Linked DNA regions of Homo sapiens: all the other regions are linked to region 1. The links are contacts of gene promoters, found by promoter capture Hi-C in blood cells and fetal thymus (Javierre and others, 2016). All regions are on one chromosome and are shown on one strand. The core of a region is centred on a gene start or on the middle of the fragment in contact, and the rest is flanking DNA. Distances in the headings are between cores, read along the strand shown. Region 1 holds the start of EPB41L4A-AS1 (EPB41L4A antisense RNA 1). Region 2 has its middle 21 kb from the start of NREP. Region 3 overlaps STARD4-AS1 (STARD4 antisense RNA 1).

Region 1 (2,500 bases), core at 1-2,500:
TTCTTTCTTTTATAGAAGTAGGCTTCAAAGAAACAACGAAAGGTGCTAAAACTGGTCTCTGGATGAATCTCTGCTAGGACTTAGAGAAACATGGAGACCTAGTTGTTATCATACAACTTGTCTTGCTGCCACTTGTCCTGTCCCTTCAAGGAGTTATGGTTATCAGGAAAAAAGCCAATTAACAAACTCTGCTTAATTTTTGTGGTGATAATTAATCAACTCTAAGATTTCAGCATAAAATCCCAACACCTTGCCCTGTGTGACAAGACCCTAAGTGCCTTGCTCCTGCCTGGCTCTCCAGCTGCATCTTGTCACTCTACACTCCTTACTCGACTCCAGCCACACTGGCCAAGGCCTGCTGTCTCCAGATCTTGCATAACCGCCTTCACACATCTGCTCGGAGTTCACTTCCAGTCTTCCTATTCCTAGCCCCATGAGCTACTGAACACTTGAAATGTGTCTAGTCTGAACGGAAATGTGCTGGAAGTATAAAATATACACCGGATTTTTATGACTTAGTAGATATAAAAGAAATATCTTATTAATAATCTCATATTGATTGCCTGTTGAAATATTTAAAATATGTTGGGTTATTATTAAAATTAATTTGATCTGTTTCTTTTTACTTTTTTTTTTTTTTTTTTGAGACGGAGTTTCGCCCTTTTGTCCAGGCTGGAGTCAAGTGGCATGATCTCGGCTCACCGCAACCTCCACCCCCACCCCGCCCGGGTTCAAGCCATTTCTCCTGCCTCAGCCTCCCAAGTAGCTGGGATTATAGACGCCCGCCACCAAGCCCAAGTAATTTTTGTATTTTTAGTAGAGACGGGGTTTTGCCATGTTGGCCAGGCTGGTCTTGAACTCCTGACTTCAGGTGATCACCTGCCTCAGCCTGCCAAAGTGCTGGGATTACAGGCATGAGCCACCGCGCCCGGCGTTCTTTTCACATTTTATGTGGCAATTGGAAAATTTAAAATTACACTCATGGCTCACACTGTTTCCATCGGACAGCGCTACCCTATGGCATGACCCTCTTTTGCTGCCCTCCTGGCACTTACATTGTAGAATTTCAGCATCCGGGCTCACTTGGTCAGTGGCCTACTCACCCAAGCAGAATGTACCACAGAAACCTTGCCTGGCTCACCCACACCTGATTCCCAGGCACTCAGGCCAGGGCCTGGAGCATAGTAAGTGCTGACTAAATATCTTTCGAATGAATGACTCTACTCTTCCTCAGCTGGACTCATGAATTCTGTCGGGTCCCAAAATACGTGGTCTAAAGTCCTTTGGGCTCCTGCCGCTGCCAGCACTGATCATATGCTCTTGACCCTGGTCGGGTGGGGGGATGTCTGGATACCTCCTCTGTGGAAAGAACTGGCCACACATCCGCAGAGGTGACTCGGGCTGAGAACCCAGGCTCCTCCTCCCTTTGGTGACACGCCCCTCGGTCCCTCACTGGCACTTCTCCCTCCGGCCACACGGCGGCGTCTCGCCATAGCGCAGCGGCCGATGGTACAGCCCGCTCCCCCCTCGCGCTCTCGGACAGTGGGTCCTTCCACTTGTAGAAAAGCATTGTGGGACGGAAGCCTGTCCTTTCTTCCTTTTGGTGCGAGCTTGCTGTGGTTTTTGCTCTGGGTCCTCTGGGATGGCGCCTGGCTGTGGCCGCGTGGTCTCTCACGCAGGGGCGCCGGGCGGGGGAACGCGGCCACCCTGAGTCTGGTGAGTCGACTGCGGCGGCCTGTGTCCGAAGTGTCCGGGGCCGTGAACAAGGGCAGCGGCCTGGCCTCAGGCCTGCGTTCCCACGTTTGGAAACGGGGAGCTTCGTCGATTTGTGTTTACATCATCGACTATGCCAGGGAGTTCTCCAGATAAGCCTGGTTTTATTTTCGTCAGTGAAAAGGCCTTACCGTATAACTGACTTTATGCTTGCCCTGCCCCCGTATAAAATAACTTAAAAGCAGCGTGCCTGGTTACAGCTGTTTCCACGTGCGGTGCTCGTCGGGAGTGATCACCTACCCTACAGGTGAGTTTTCACGTTCGTGCAAGACCAGTCGCCATTTAAAACGCATCGCATTTCACTTTTCATTATTAAGTCGGATTTTAAATCGTGAGAAAATTTCTCTGAAATGTATTGTCCGTTTTTAGGCTGTAATCGGCATTACTGTCAGCCAGTCAGCAACCTTATGCCATAAAGCCTACCTCACGCAGTGTCAGCCTTTGTGTTGCCCATTCACTTTGGAAACTAGTGAATGTGGTGTCAAAAAAGGCGTAAATTAAACGCTTTGCAGCCTTTTCCTGCCCTTAAATTTGATACCTTTGGTGTAGGAGCTGCATAAGTAACAGTTGCTGCTTTTACGTTTCCACGCGTGATCTTGACCCTGCTAGCCTTAAGTGTATGGTTTCTCTTAGCCAGTTCTAATTTTTGTTCAGGTGGAAGATGGATGCCTGAAGTGTAGACTGCTGCTAGCTGAATACCATCTGGGAGCATAAAGGTGACCTGAAG
Region 2 (2,905 bases), core at 395-2,894, 380 kb before region 1:
CTGATGCCTAGAAGAAAAGCCAATTTATTACATACAATGGATGACTTAGAGTATGAGAATTTAATTCTCGCAAGGAACTCTCACTGAGAATGTTTATGTTTGCTACAGTGTGTGGTGTGGGTGTGTGTGTGAGTGTGTGTGTGTGTGTGTGTGTTTTAAGTACGTATTTATTATGAGAATCTAACAGTAGTTGTCTCTGGAGAGGAAACCGGGTAGCTCACTTTTCAGTGTGTGACCTATGTTACAATTTAAATTGTGTACTGCGTGCATGTAAAAACACACAAATTTCTCCCTAAATGATACATTGGGAATGTTAGAGAGGTGAGACATCTAGGAGTAAATACGACAATGCTTCAGTGTAGTTGCACATTAACCATTATGTGTATATTTGTGGTATTCAGTAACAAGAGTGTTTTGAGCTCAATTTTTAAGTCCAAAATGCTGTTTATGTAACTTTGAGTGATCTAAGGAAGAAAAAGCAACGTTTTTGAGGGCATGGTGCATAGTTTAAGACTGGCAAAGTTCTAGAAATTATAGGTGTGGAGAAAACAAGGGAAATGTATCACAGTTATACTTTGTATAACTAAAGTATGGCCAGGTCCCAATTGTATTCTCCTAGTAGGTCCCATCACTTTCCCCATCTAGTCCAATTGTGCTCTGATTGCCTGTGTGATGGCTCACATGAAATAGGTTGCTGATTGAGATAAATAGGGTATGGGAGGTCCAGGAATTTCATTGTTTTGCTGGTAATTTGAAATGTTAAACAGCAAAATATCAAAACAACTTCTCTGTTTTGCCTGTACGTAGAACAAGCTAAAGAAAGCCCAAGAAACTGATACCTGGTGGCAGAAATCATAGGATTTAGTACAGAACAATTTAATGCATACACACAGGCACACATCAGAAGTGGGAGTGGTCTTGTCAAGCAGAGGCAAGTTGCTTGCCAATCTCCAGCCAGCACATCAAACTCTTCATATGCTAAGAGAATTGCCCTAGAATATCCAGATACATTTGTAATAATGCAGATAACAAAAATTACTGCTACAAGTGGTCTGAGATTTATTGACAACATCAATGCACGTGCCAAGTGCTTTATATGCATCATAGTGTTAAATGTCCACAACATCCCATTGAGGTAAATAATGTTGTCATCCTCACTACGAGTGAGGAAACAGAGGCTCACTGGGTTTAAGTAGTGTGCTTAACAGTTAGTGAGTGTGGGGCCTACTTCTTGTCCTCTAAACCATGTCCTTTTTGTCTATTTCATGGCCAATTGTCAGTAGTATGAATTCCTTATATAAAGAGTTATACATGAAGCTTTACATGGAGTCAAAGTCCTTATTTAATTGTGATGTAGGCTTTTCCCACACTCCATTACATTTCTTAATTTGCTAATGTATTTCACTCCATTTCTTGGAATGGGCACATATTTTTCAGTATTGCTTTACAAGTTTGTTTGTGTTTGTTTGTTTGGCTGTGAGGCCCTAAAAAGCAGAGATTTCTTCAGAAAGTTGACAAACAGCATATTCTTTAACATCTTGCAAAGCTCTCCTATGAAGCCCCCTCAAATAAAATTCACTATACAGAGGTTACTACATGTAAAATATCTTCAGAGATACTTCAACAGCATACGATGATTTTTTAAGCAAGTTCTTTGGTTACCAAGGATAAGAAGTTCACCATGACATTTCATTCAGTACTAAAGTATGTTTTATTTTTTTAATGGTCCTCGAATATCATAGAAGAACATCTTGTAGCAACCTTTACGTTGCAATCATACTTTATTGAAACTCCTTGATATATGAGTCTTCCCTACTTAACATATATACCCAAAAAAGAGTACATAAACTTATTTGAAAATTTATTTGAAATATATGAAAAGAAATTAAAATACATTCCTATTTTTCTTTCTCCCATCCCATGTAGAATAATTTCTGTTCACTTGGCTACAAACTAGCTGATGCATTAAGATAAGCTTATTGCTGTGTTGTTGGGCTATCTCAGCAAGCCAGAAAGCAAGGGGTGCATCCAGACCTCCTAAGGGGTTGGAAGCAGGAACTAGATGGCTTTCTGGAACTTCACTTCTTTTCCCAGCTCTAGACGCCAGTGTGCATCCTGTCACACAGCTCTGCACCTGCTTTGTGCTTCTGTCTCTGCCGGGAGGTTTGCTCTGCTCTGCTCAGACTATTTTAGCTACTGTCTGTTAGTCTTAGCTCATTGCCCCAGGAAAACAATCTAATTGGATTAGTTACCATGATTCATTTAGCCATAAACAGGTATGTGATGTCACATGTGCCCTCCCATTCACTGGAGCTATGAGAACCAGGAGGAGAGGCTTAGGTCAAACTCTCCAAGAAAGGGGGTAAGGGCAGTAGTGAGGACATGACTGTGGAGAAACAAGTGGGAATTTGTATTATGGCTTGCCCGTGAGAACCAATATTCTTCCAGAATCTGGCTAGAGACTATTCAGAGAGTATATCTTTCATATTTAGATGTTTCTATAAAGGCTTCTCCTGGGTCAATCCATTTCTGAAAGTTTATAGGACTTAACAGTAGGCTTTGGAAAGGCAACTCAATCAGATGCTGAATTGTACAGTATGAGAGAGGACAAGAACATAGCTTACCTATTAAATGGGTACTTGAGGGCTCTCTCTTGATTAAATTGTGATTTTTTATTATTTTTATTTTTGCCTCAGAAGTTCTGTTCTTAGGCATATTCATAATGTCTGAGGCTGAGGCTTTCCCTGAATGCTTTGGAAATCAGAGATGGAAAACTTAAGTGGATAGTGCTGGCCGTGATCCAATGCACGCTAGTGCAATGCAGAGGGGGAAATTGTCATTTTAAACCACAACTGAACAGAGCAACTTCTGCCTTCCCGTGGAGAACACGGGGGTGGGAATGGGG
Region 3 (2,989 bases), core at 39-2,538, 480 kb before region 1:
AAAAACCAGGGCATGGGGTTGAATGTATAAAATGCTTTCCTGCCTCAGAGGAGAAAGACCCTTTCTGTGTTGAGGGAGGAGCTTTGAGAAAGTTGAGAAAGCAGAGCTAGCGTGTTCAGATGCAAATGTGGGGTCTGCTGAAACCTCTGCATGGAGGCTGAGGAGATGGAAGGGTGCCACCTAGAAACATTTAGGATCTGAGAATAGAAGGTGCCCTGCTTTCCATCTGGAGTAGCCCTGCTGGCCTTCTGTTTGGTCATTGCCTATGCCAAACTACATGTTAAATATTTTTAACATTTTCCTTATACTGGGGAGTTTCAATGGGTTTTCATCAGAGGGTGTAATATGATGTGACTTGTGTTTTGAAAGATCACTGAGTGAAGATGAAGAGGATAGACTGGAGGAGGAATGCCCAGAGACCCACAGAAAACCTTGGAAGCAGTGGTACAGGCTTGAGGGGATGGCAGCCCCAGTTGCGAAGTGTCAGGACTGACTCAAGTTCACTTCTCAGGGAGAGGAAGGAGAGAGACTGTGGGATTGCTCCCAGATTGCTGGCACAGTGGGCTGAATGGTGGTGCCATTAATGGGTAGATAATTCAGGAGAAGGAGGGGGCTTAGGAAGGGAGATAACGAGTTCGGTTTTCATCTAGATGTGCTATGAAATCTTAAAAGTCCTTGAGAAATTGGAGAAATGTGAACTGGTTGATAATAAGGTAAGGAGGATTTGAAGCTAGTGGAACAAATAAACCCACTGTGTTTATTAATGAATCGTGATGCCTCTCAAGGGAGGTCTCTGGTTCTATTGGAGGGCTCTGCCCTTGGCCTAGTTTTTCAAGAACTTGGATGTAGACACAGAAGATATGCTCACCAAATTGCTGTATGATGCAAATATTGAAGAAATAGATATTACAGTAGATGACTGAATTAAAAATTCAGAAGGCTGAAGCAATTGTCTGAAAATAACAGGATGACACTTAGAATAAATATAAAGTCTTACATTTAGGTTTAAAGCAAAATAAATGGCACAGTTACAGGATCTGAAGGTCTGGCTTGGCAGCAATTTCTCCCAACAATTAAATCGGGATTTTTGTTGGCTTAAACTTTATGATGAATCAACAGTGTGATGCAGCCACTTAAAGGCAACTCCCTCTCCAGATGTGATGAAGAAGAGTTTAGAAGACACACTTCCTAGCAAAGTTCCCTCAGTTTTTCAAAACTAAGTGTTTTTTAGAATAAAAATAGTTTAAAGAAGCCACAGATTAAAAACCAAGACTTTTGGTCATTTATTCCAAACACACAAGGCAGGGAATTGCTCTCACTTGGTGGCTTTATGTCCCTGATTGCATCAATTCATCCAGAGACAACTCGTGCCCACTGAATAGACATGTGCTTTCCTGCATTTTCCAGGTCCTTTCAGCTGGGTTGGGACCATGTGACAGAGTTCTGGCAGATAGGAATGAGAGCAGAAGTGACATGGCACTTCTGGTCCTAGGTTCCTAACTGTTGCTGTGTCTCCCGTATCCTTCTTCCTCCTGATCAGAAGAACTTAAAGTCATATGTTGAAGTGCTGGCAGACAAGATGGAGAGAGCCTTCACCCCTGAGTCACTGGATAGTAGAGAGCTCTGCTGACCCACGTGACTTCACATGAGCAAGAAACAAAATTTTGCAGTTATTGAGCACCTGCAGTTTAGGGGTATCTCTATTGTTGCCACTAGCATAACCCCCCAACCCTAAAAGCATTTATCCTTGAACATCACCTGGCAAAGGTGTAGCAATGGCTTAGCCCTTATACTTCTTTACAAGGAACTTCTGAGAAACTCTGCTTGTAGCCCCAGTTTTGAGGTTTTTGGTGGATAAATAATGTACTCGCACACAAAACTGATGGAACTCAATTTTAGTAACATGACGAAGAAAACCACTCTTCTGGTCCACAATTCCTTTATATTAAAAAAAGTACCAATTTATACTAAGGCATTAAAAACACTTATTCATAAAATGTAACACACTTTGTGAATTATCCCAGAGAATGTTCTTATATTGGCTCAGGGTTTTGACGGGCCCTAAGGTCCCTTCCAGTTCATGAAGTAGAGCAGAAATTATAATGTAAGTATAATGGAGGAAATCTTAGAAGTCATCTAATGCTACCAAATACCAGACTTTATAGAGTAGGAAATTGAGCCTGAGAGAATTCGAGATATTTATCCCAGGTTTCTTTGATCTCCTGAATTCCATTTGCAGTGTTCTTCCCAGTACATTGTTTTAAAATTATAGTATTTAAAAGCAAACAATGACAACAACAAAAAAACCCTCTTAACTCTTTTTACCTTGCAAGGAGCTGATTCCTTTCTCCTGAACCTCTTCCATTGTTATGACTCCATGAAAGGGGACAGAGAAGTTTCCTTAGGAACAAAGAGAGGAAAGAAGATGTACAGCAGATGGGAAATCTGTGCAAGCATAGAGCCTACCTTATTCTCATACTACATAACCTTTCCTGGTCTTTCCCCTCTTCTTCTTCAAGCCTTTTTCCTATCACACACATACACATGCTACAAAATCTTTCTGGAACAGATACCTTATCTTCTTTCTCATTCCAGGTTAAACTTAGTCTAGGACAGTGATATTTTTAGTTCAATGAAGTTTTTATAAACTCTAGTTTATCATTTTAACCCCAGAGCATCCTTATCTCAAGGATCTTTCCCTATTCTCCACCCCCTAGTTTTAACCCTTTGCTGCAGAGCTTAGAAAGAAGCTTATTAGAATGATGATCCCTTGGTTAAACCAAGGTCTCCTGCAGCTCATGTCATCATCTGCCAGGCTGTCACTCAGGGTAGCCAGTGGTACCTCCATCATGGACAGATGTCCAGCTTGTGCTCACCGTGTTGGGAAGCCCAGTGGTCAGTGCCATTTTTTCCTTTTTCCCTTGTACCTTCCTGCCCAACTGTTTGTTGCTTCAATTGGCAATCTCATGGAATGGCCAGCAGGCCCCTG

The links. Contacts are between HindIII fragments. The CHiCAGO score rates a contact against its expected background, and 5 or more counts as called.
Region 2: a contact is called between a fragment that was not itself captured here and the fragment with the promoter of EPB41L4A-AS1 in region 1, in 2 of 17 cell types (M0 macrophages and M1 macrophages). The highest score is 5.5, in M0 macrophages.
Region 3: a contact is called between a fragment that was not itself captured here and the fragment with the promoter of EPB41L4A-AS1 in region 1, in 1 of 17 cell types (M2 macrophages). The highest score is 5.8, in M2 macrophages.

What each region holds. Positions count from the first base shown.
Region 1 is chr5:112,159,276-112,161,775 of GRCh38, forward strand. It overlaps EPB41L4A-AS1 (EPB41L4A antisense RNA 1), which reads left to right and starts at 1,251. Exons shown (of 3, transcript NR_015370.2): 1 at 1,251-2,020; 2 at 2,428-2,500. It overlaps SNORA13 (small nucleolar RNA, H/ACA box 13), which reads left to right and starts at 2,210; the gene lies at 2,210-2,342. It also overlaps a transcript of EPB41L4A not described here. RefSeq lists enhancers at 1,118-2,317, 1,136-1,345, 1,218-1,950, 1,726-1,825, 1,846-1,895 and 1 more. The HindIII fragment of the contact is 7,805 bases long and covers 1-2,500 here.
Region 2 is chr5:111,777,224-111,780,128 of GRCh38, forward strand. It overlaps a transcript of NREP not described here. Among named protein-coding and RNA genes, the nearest start is that of NREP, 21 kb to the left of the region's middle. The HindIII fragment of the contact is 658 bases long and covers 1,316-1,973 here.
Region 3 is chr5:111,675,615-111,678,603 of GRCh38, forward strand. All of the region lies in intron 2 of STARD4-AS1 (STARD4 antisense RNA 1), which reads left to right. Among named protein-coding and RNA genes, the nearest start is that of NREP, 80 kb to the right of the region's middle. The HindIII fragment of the contact is 2,919 bases long and covers 1-2,748 here.